Regions from separate parts of the Homo sapiens genome. Here regions 1 and 2 are each linked to region 3. The links are contacts of gene promoters, found by promoter capture Hi-C in human tissues and cell types (Jung and others, 2019). All regions are on one chromosome and are shown on one strand. The core of a region is centred on a gene start or on the middle of the fragment in contact, and the rest is flanking DNA. Distances in the headings are between cores, read along the strand shown. Region 1 overlaps HYLS1 (HYLS1 centriolar and ciliogenesis associated). Region 2 overlaps LINC03136 (long intergenic non-protein coding RNA 3136). Region 3 holds the start of ACRV1 (acrosomal vesicle protein 1).

Region 1 (3,060 bases), core at 239-2,738, 220 kb after region 3:
GCTCTGGCCCACTAGCTGTACTTGAGCAGATAGAATAGTCCTCTGAAAATTAATCACACCGTTGGCTACATCCATTTTACACAAGTTCCTGAAATCATGGGTGCCAACATACTTCTGAGCTGCATAATCCATGGTTACAATATCTAAATCAGCACGAGGGAAAAAATAGCGGTAAGTCCGCTCAAGGCAGCTGAACCTAGCACTGAAGCTTGGTTCTACAGGGGCCCAGGCCAATATACGGATGTCTGGAGGGAGTACCCGATTGAGAATGTGGGTATAACGGATCTCTTCAGCAGCAGCATTAGCCTCCTCTTTTACATTAAAGTCCTCGGAATCCCTGCCCCTTGGAAACTGAGAGCGAAGGTCAAGTGAGATCACCTGTGGAGTTAGACAAAGATACTGGGTTTTAGAGACACAAATAATCTCAGTACTCAGTGTGTATACCTAGAATATCCTAGTATTGCTTGCTTTGAGAAACAGTGTATTGGCCCTTACCTGTCCAAAGGCACTAACTCCTTTATCTGTTCTCCCACATCGGTGATAGTTGGATGTCTGTCTGCTTTCTACTAGTCGAGTCTTGGTTAGAGCTTCAAACAGTTTCTCTTCAATGGTATTATTTGTGTTTTCCTGACTAGCAAAGCCCTGGTATCCCCAGCCCATATAGGCTATTCTTAGGGCTACGTGTCTTCGGCCATGAGCACTGAAATCAAATGCACGCTTAGTTTTTCCAGCTCCTGCTGAATTTTCTCTAATGTTTGAGTCCTCCTTATTTTTGGCCTGTTCCTTTTTAAGTCTTTGCACCTCTTGCTCCAGTTCTCGTACTCTTTTTAGGAGCTTCTCAGTCTGGTTTCTGTCTGTGTCATTATAAGCCATGATATGACAACCCCAGGAATAAACGAACCATACAGGTCTGCCCTGTCTGAAAAGAGAGCAAAGGGATACAACAGTTTCAATGCTAGTTCCTTTGATGATGTTCTAATGGTATATAAGATTTAATTTAATGCCCAAAGAATATACTTTTGCTTTTCCAGGAATACAAGCATTAGCTTTATTGTGGGTTGATCATCCACAGATAGCATTCTTTTCCATCCTGTCTGGCCAGTTCACAGAGGGAAAGAACTGTTTGTTATTCAGTTGTCATTATTAAGGTTTCATTAAAGCAGTCAAAATTCAGGGAGAATGTCTATAGATTTCATTTCTCTATCTTCACTGAATTGATTGAGGACTGATGTTACAGATTTTTTTCTCTAAAACATTTCCATTTGATTTCTCACTGTATTTGTTCAATTTGCTAGTCATAAGATTTCTTTATATGGGCTACTTTTATCTGCTCTGAGTTTCTATTGCTTTCCATTATCTCAAATAAATGACTTGTATGCTCCATCATCTAATATTCATTAGATGAATATTAGGTGGTGCAATAGAAGCTAGCCTAACTGAAGAAGCTTACCGATGGTTGTATTTCACATTGGAAGTAGAAGCTAGAGACAAGATTTTCTCACTTTAAGCAATTTTGATGGGAGAAAAAAAGATAATTAAGCACTCTGACCCCTTTCTAAAGCTGAATTAAATGCATATTTTGATAAAAGATTTCTGTGCCTCTAATAGTTTAAAAAGTCAGTCTGATGTAATGTAGATGTCAGTGTAGAAATTCCTGTAATATTTCAATAATCTGAGGACAACTGTACTACATCCTTAAAATTGGGATGGTCCTAGACAATCTGTGACTGATGGTTACTTTAGTTAGAGAAGACCATCTCCACATCTGTTCTAAGGCCATGTTATCTAAGTATAGGTAGCTTAGTTTTTTACTATGAGTTTCTGTATCTATAATAGATTAAAAGTTTAAATTGTAAAAAATGAAACTGAAAGTACTAGAAGAAAACATGGAATGACTTTTTTCTGAAATTCTGGAGTAGGAAAGGCATTTCTAAGCAAAACAGTCTAGAAACCCAGACACTAGAAAAAGATGTGACCTAAAAGGAAAAACTTCTGCCAGCAAAAAATAAAAGGCAAATGACAAACTGAGAAGAAAAAAATAAGTGATGGTAAAGTGCGACCTTCCTCAATATATATTTCATGAATATATACATCAGTTTTAATGAAAAAGTAAAAAAAAAAAAAATCCAGCAACCTGAGAGTCAAATGGGCAAAGACCAAGCATTTCAAACAAAAAGAAAAAAGCTTATAAAAATTTTTTAAAAAAAATTTTAAATGCTCAATTTTACTCAGCTGAGATAAATGCAAAAGGATATGAACTATTTTTCAAGGAAGTGACTGCAAAGACAAAGTTTGATAGTATACCACTTTGGAGAGGGAATAGAGACACAAGCTCTATTAATGTATGGTCAGTACAGCTTCTTTGGAGGTAAACATTTTGGCAACAGCTGTCAAAATTGAATATACACATACCTTTTGGCCCACCTCTCCCATGTCTAGAAATTTAATCCATTCATATGCTTGCACAAATAGATAAAAACTTGCAAGATACTCGTGTTAGCATCAGTAAACCTATAAACCTAAATTACACCAGTAAGGGAATGGCTGACTAAATTTATGATACATTCATACATTGGAATTCCGCGCAACATAAAATGAAGAATGTCGGCCTGTGCTGATATAGCTGGATAACCAAGATTATCTTTAAGGTTCAGAAGAGTTGTGTAGTGTTGTCCTTTACGGTATTAAAAAAAAATGTACATGTGAATATGGAAAATTTCTAGATAAATCATAAGAAATTGCCTTTGAGAGTAAAACTTGGTGGGGGAGGGAAAATCCTTGCTTAAAATTATCATGTGCATGTATTAGTTTTTCAGTTTAAAAAGAAAAATAGTGGGGACACAGGAAATAGTGGACAGTAGATACCTATCTCAGATCCAGTCAGGAAACTAGCATTGGGTATGTGGCTGATTGATGTGGATACCAAGTTATTTCAGACACTAGAATAAACAGATTTAGCTGGCAACTGAAGATGCATTAAAACTACCAAGACAGCTGGGCGCGGTGGCTCACCCCTGTAATGGGAGGCCGAGGCGGGTGGGTTGCCTGAGGTCAGGAGTT
Region 2 (3,094 bases), core at 351-2,850, 190 kb after region 3:
CCCACATCTTTGTTCTCCTTAGCGCGAGACAACGAACCTCAGTTATTTCCCCAGACAGACAACACCACTTCATTGTGGGGACTCGCCCAGGATCAGAATCAGAACAGAAGGTATATTCATCAGAGGGGTGAGTACAGGCGCAGAACTTAACTTTCAACTCTGTCCTTTCATTTGGAGGCTCTCGGCCTCCATCTTAAGTTCAAACAATGGGCATCCTATAGCCACCTAAATGCTAATAGGGCGGCCGCCATGCGGGAAGTCTCAGATGTTAGGCTTGCTTGGGAGAACATGGAGAACTTCTCAATACTCACGGATCATTGGGAATGTTGGCCATGCTTCTCGAACCAGTTTTCTCTCACGGAGGACCTAGCCGTCGCGTGGGGCTAGAAAAGGTCCTGAAGCAACTGAAGATTTCTCGCCAGGACTACACCCTGGTGTTATCTGAAGGCTTCTGGACTGACCCCACCTCCAACTGCCCGGCTGGGTGTCCGCAACAGGATCTACAGCTGTCCTATCGCAAAATTTCCTCATTTCCTATCCGCAAAGGCCATGTCTCCTATCCTCTCTGTGTATGCAGTGTTTGAGAATTTTTACAGTTCAGGAAAATAGTCCTGTTAGGAAAGATTAGCGAATGCCATAGTAACTGAGAATATAGCACAAGGGAATGCTGTTTTCTGTCATTTTCTAGGAGCAAAGAGCCCTTCTCAATAAGCATTTCTCCCTCTACCCTTCCTCTGGGAAGCGCACGGTATTTCTAGGTCAACGTCGCCACCTAGTGGAATAGGAATCCTCTCCATGAGGCACAGCGTTGGTCCATTGCTGTAACACTCTAGCCTCCCAATTCTCCTCCCTTTTTGCACCCCTATACTAGAGACCAGGCTTTATGCCCCTTCTGTGAATGCGAAAACACTGCCTTCAACAATTAGGAGTAAAATGTCCTCCAAAGCCAAATTTTAGTTCTGATACTGTCCCATCAGCAGGAAAACAGCCATTAGGTCCCTACGTTCTTTTAAGGCACACATTCTGCCCCCAGTTAAAACAGTACTTAATTAGTAAGGAGATTTTAAATCCAGAAGTTCACCAGAACCATTCTCTAAGGGTAAACCATTCTCTAAACACCTGAGATTGGGTAATTTAGAAAGAAAAGAGGTTTATTTAGCTCATGGTTCTGCAGGCTTGGAAGTTCAAGGACATGGCCACCCTGGCTTCTGGTGAGGGTGTCATAACATGGCAGACAAGGTCAAAAGAGAAGAGAACAGGTACAAAGAGAGAAAACCTGAAGAGCATCTGGGCTTTATAACAACCCACTCTTATGGGAACTAATCCATTCCTGTGTTGCCAGAGTGAGAATGCAAAGCCATTTCATGAGGGATCCACCCCCAAAACCCAAACACTTCCCACTAGGTCCCACAGCCCAACATCACCACATAGGGGATCAAATTTCAACATGAGTTTTGGTGGAGACAAACAAACCATATCCAAACCATATCCACCTTATACAAAAATTAACTCAGGATGGATCACAGACTTAAATATACAAAATGTAAAACTATATAAAACTTTTAGAAAAAAAGGAGAAAATTTGGGGGATTTGGAACTAAGTAAAGAGTTCTTAGACTTGCCACTAAATGTATGATCCATAAAAGGAAAAATTAATTAATTGGACTTAATAAATTTTAAAAGCTTTGCTTGGTGAAAGGCTCTATTAAGGGCATAAAAATACAACCTATAGACCAGGAGAACATATTTTCATACCACCTATTTGGCAAAAGACTAGTATCTAGAATATATAAAGAACTCTGAAAATTCAACATTAAAAAAATAAATAATACAACTGGAAAATTAGCAAAAGACATGAAAACAGTTCACTAAAGAGAATATTCAAATAAAAAATGCATGAAAAGATTTTCAACATTATTAGCTACATTGAATTTAATGTAGATTAAAACCACAATGGAATGTTACTACATACCTAGAGGGTGGCTGAAATTAAAAACTGACAACACCAAATGCTGGTGAGGATGCACAAAAACTGCATCATTCATACACCACTGATGGGAATGTAAAATGTACATGAAAATAAATTAGTTTGGCAGTTTCTTTTAAAACTAAACATGCAACTACCATGTAGCCAGGCAACTGTACTCTTGAGCATTTATCCCAGAGAAATGAAAACATACTCACACAAAAATCTGTATGTGAATGTTTATAGTAACACTGTTCAAAATTGCAAAAAAAAAAAAAAAATGGAAATAATCCAGATGTCCCCCAGCGGGTAAATGTTTAAACAAACTGTGATACATCCAAGCCATGGAATACTGCTCAACAATGGAAAAGAACAACAACCTGGATGAATCTCCAGATAATTTTTTGAGTGAAAAAAAAAAAATCCCAAAAAGTTCTATACTGTATGATTCCATTTAAATAGGAAGTTAGGGTGGAAAGACATTGGGTGTGGATATAAAATGGCAACATGAGGGAACTTTGTTCTTTATCTTGACCTTATCAGTGTTAATATCCTTGTGTGATATTGCACTGTAGTTTTGCAAGATGTTACCAGTGGAGGTAATTGGATAAAGTGACAGAGGATCTCTTATTTCTAAAAATTTAAGAAGTAAATCAGATACAAAGAAATATGATGTAAAGAAAACCTCATTCACGAGTTCATGTCCTTTGCAGGGACATGGATGAAGCTGGAAACCATCAGCCTCAGCAAACTAACCCAAGAACAGAAAACCAAACGCTGCATGTTCTCACTCATAAGTGAGAGTTGAACAGTGAGAACACATGGACACAGGAAGGGGAACATCACACATGGGGGCCTGTCAGGGGGTGGGGGGCAAGGGGAGGGAGAACATTAGGACAAATACCTAATGCATGAGGGGCTTAAAACCTAGATGACGGGTTGATAGGTGCAGCAAACCACCATGGCACACGAATACCTATGTAACAAACCTGCACATTCTGCATATGTATCCCAGAGCTTAAAGTAAAATTCAAAAAAAAAGAAAAGAAAAGAAATACAAGAAAACCTCACTCACAATCTGGCATGTCTAGTCTTCCTTTTATTTAAAATAGTTGATTCTCAATCCTG
Region 3 (3,077 bases), core at 222-2,721:
CCTGGCTAATTTTTGTATTTTTAGTAGAGACAGGGTCTCGCCATGTTGGCCAGGCTGGTCTTGAACTCCTGACCTCAAGTGATCCGCCCGCCTCAGCCTCCCAAAATGCTGGGATTACAGGCATGAGCCACTGTGTCTGGCCAATCCATCTCATCATTGACTGTCAGACAAATATTCCTTAAGTATATTTTAAGTGAACAGAAGCACAAAACAGATAATTTGATTATTACTCTTTGATTAAACTGAGCCACCTAGAGGAAGACAAGTAGACTACAACAACCAAGTTATTTAATTCTAGCCAAAAGCTGAGAGGAATTATTGGATCTTTGAGGCTGAGGTAGTCTAAAACCCCAGAGTACTCAAAACTCTAAGAATCTTGCGATAGATATATTTTCTTGGCACAGTGCAGTACTTACAATCAGTGACTTTCTAAATGACTAGGGTGAGAATATGTTGATAAAGGAAAGGTAAGATTTAGTAAAGCTTTTAGGAGGTTTTTATTTTTTAAACTTATTACATAAATACTATCTACTTGACTGGTTTTTCAATAATTAACACAAGTTTTGATAAAGAGATGTTTCTGATATAGAAAGGAGACATAAAAAGCATGCTAATTTCTTGATCTTATAGTTTATGACTCGTGTCACCATGTGACTGGCACATACTATCACCTGGTGGCTGTGTATCTACATTTTTGAGTCAACTTTTGAAGGTCTAACAAAGCAAAAAGCAAAACCTCTGACAGTCGACATTATAGAAAATACATTGTTTTTTCACTGAAAGCTCAGAGCTCATGGCCTCTTTCTGCTGTAGGAGGCAGGAGGGAACACAGCACACCATGAATGGGGGATCCCAAAAGAAGAGATGATACAGAAAACCTGATTGATATAACACAGCCATGAAGAAGAGGCTTATGAAGTCTCTGGCCTATAGCTCTGTCGTGTTCTGAGGTTGTTTTCTGAACACATTACATCTTCCCATCTCCCATCTTTCCTTGGCACATTAACCACACAAGGATCCCTCACATTTAATTGGTGGGACAAACCTTCATTGGGCTTCTACAGAACCCCTAAGCCTACTTTTTCATCTCATGCAGCATCAGGTATAAATGTTGAGTGGCTAAAATAAGTAGAAACCAGACTGTGCCAAGCCAGTGGGACCCTCTGACTGTAAAGCTATGACTAGAGAAATCAACTGGTTCAGGAGCTCTCCGAGTTGGACTTGTTTAGCTGCTCTTGATTCTGACTCAGATTGGTTTGGGTGACTGAGAGACTGGTCTTCCTTCTTCAAGGCCTGAAATGTCTTAAGGGAGACCCCTTTTGTATTTACCTGAAGCCTAGATCAAACACTCACCTCTGGCAGATCCAAGCAGATAAAGACTCATTAGCAAGAGAAACCTGTTCATCTGGATTTAGGAAAAGAGGGGACCCCAGTGTGGGCCACAGCTTCTTCACAGAGCTATGAAGCAAACTGCGAGCAAAAGCTTCCAGTGCTGAAGCAGAGCTTCTGGGAATTCTAGAACCTCAGAAGTAACCCATGTTTCTTCACAATGGGTTGGGCTCTGAGGTTCTTGTGTAGCCTGTTCAGGCAAGTTGGCCCTTAGCAACCCACTGCTTATTTCACTAGTGAAGACCAATGATTATTTTCTGTGTGCAGGGTAGTGTGTTGGGGCTATCTGCCCTATCTTTAAAAAAAAAAAAAAAGTATTACCAAAAAGCACATATTTTTTGTAATAAAGTTTAAAAGATATCTACTGTCTTTTAAAAGTGTTTTTGACAATGAGATGTAATTGTTGATTGTTTTCTGTTTGGCTTTCTAAATCAGCCTTTCTTGGCTCTGATCTGTACCCTGGAAGGTTGACCTCTGTTGACTTTATCACCTGAATGCTGGCTGGATTTGGCTTCAGATTGGGTTTATACAGGATTGGAGGGGAGAAGAGAGAAAGAGAGAGAGGAAGAGGGAAGGGAGGAATGGGGAGAAAGAGAGCGAGACTGGAATATTTGTTCTTCCTATTCCCTTCCTGCCACAGTTGACACTGGCTGAGTCTACATGACAGAGCTTCTGTTGGGTGTCCTCTCTTCCATGGCTCCAGCTCTCATCCATGCTATGGTAATATGTTTTTCTCCCCCTGCCCTCTTAGGCCTAGGGATGATAATGGTTTCCTGCTGTTACTAAAATCTGGATGCCCAAACTTATCTCTTTTTTTGTTTGTTTGTTTCCTTAACCTTGCCCACTTCTGTAAATAGTCTTTTCATACAGACCTTTATCAACATGGTTTTAGCAGGAAACAGGTGGCAAACTCAAATGGGTAACTGAGGAGAGTTTACACAGATATGGGCAGAGTAAAGAGATCAAGAGACAGTAGAAAGCTGCGTTTTGAGCTGCAACTTGGTAGCAAGGGGGTGGCCAAGCTGAGAAGATGGATGCAGTGAGGCATCCACCTGATATAAAACTAGAACTTATGGAGGATTGAGTGGCAAAGATCTGGTAGCTTCCATTTCTCGCTGCTTCTCTGCTCAGCTCTCTTGAACAACTTTGTTTTATATACCACTGAATGCTAAATCTAGAATAGATGTACTTATTGTTACATTTTGAAAGGAAGGTGAGGGTTAAAGAAAGAGAGAGTGGCGGCTCTACATCAAATCCAGGCTTTCTGTCTAGCATAAGACCTACAGAGGTGGGGGACTAGCTTAATGCCAGTGCCCACTGCTTCGTACAGGTTGGGGTACTTGTAGGTATGAGCAGGACGGGTCTGGGCAGTATGGCTTGCTGCCTGGGAAGATGTTCCCATAATGAGGCATTTTGGCCCTTGTTCCCGCAGAATGTGATGCTGATGTTCCTTGGACTTTTTCCCAGCAGAGTGTGATAAAGTCAGGGAGGCAGTTGGACAGGCTGTTTCTAAGGGCCCAAACCCCCGTGGAATGCTTCACTTTAGCCAAGGTCTGCAAAATGGCGGGGGTCGGTGGGGGTTACGAAATGGTGCAGTTTGGACTAACACTTTATCACTGTTATAATTATTTGTTTCATGTTTGTACTCCCCGTTGGACTCTAAGCTTGAATGCAGAGACCCTGTCTTG

The links. Contacts are between HindIII fragments. The study calls those that stand out against the background at their distance.
Region 1: a contact is called between a fragment that was not itself captured here and the fragment with the promoter of ACRV1 in region 3, in 2 of the 25 tissues and cell types used here (mesenchymal stem cells and spleen).
Region 2: a fragment that was not itself captured here is called in contact with the fragment with the promoter of ACRV1 in region 3 in 2 of the 25 tissues and cell types used here (mesendoderm cells and thymus).

What each region holds. Positions count from the first base shown.
Region 1 is chr11:125,895,412-125,898,471 of GRCh38, forward strand. All of the region lies in intron 2 of HYLS1 (HYLS1 centriolar and ciliogenesis associated), which reads left to right. It overlaps PUS3 (pseudouridine synthase 3), which reads right to left. Exons shown (of 4, transcript NM_031307.4): 2 at 496-919; 3 at 1-378. The coding sequence starts at 873. Among named protein-coding and RNA genes, the nearest start is that of PUS3, 6.3 kb to the right of the region's middle. The HindIII fragment of the contact is 5,970 bases long and covers 1-3,060 here.
Region 2 is chr11:125,873,935-125,877,028 of GRCh38, forward strand. It overlaps LINC03136 (long intergenic non-protein coding RNA 3136), which reads right to left. Exons shown (of 2, transcript XR_007062935.1): 1 at 312-3,094. Among named protein-coding and RNA genes, the nearest start is that of LINC03136, 7.4 kb to the right of the region's middle. The HindIII fragment of the contact is 6,358 bases long and covers 1-3,094 here.
Region 3 is chr11:125,679,376-125,682,452 of GRCh38, forward strand. ACRV1 (acrosomal vesicle protein 1) reads right to left here and starts at 1,472. Exons shown (of 4, transcript NM_001612.6): 1 at 1,354-1,472. The coding sequence starts at 1,405. It also overlaps a transcript of CHEK1 not described here. The HindIII fragment of the contact is 2,782 bases long and covers 984-3,077 here.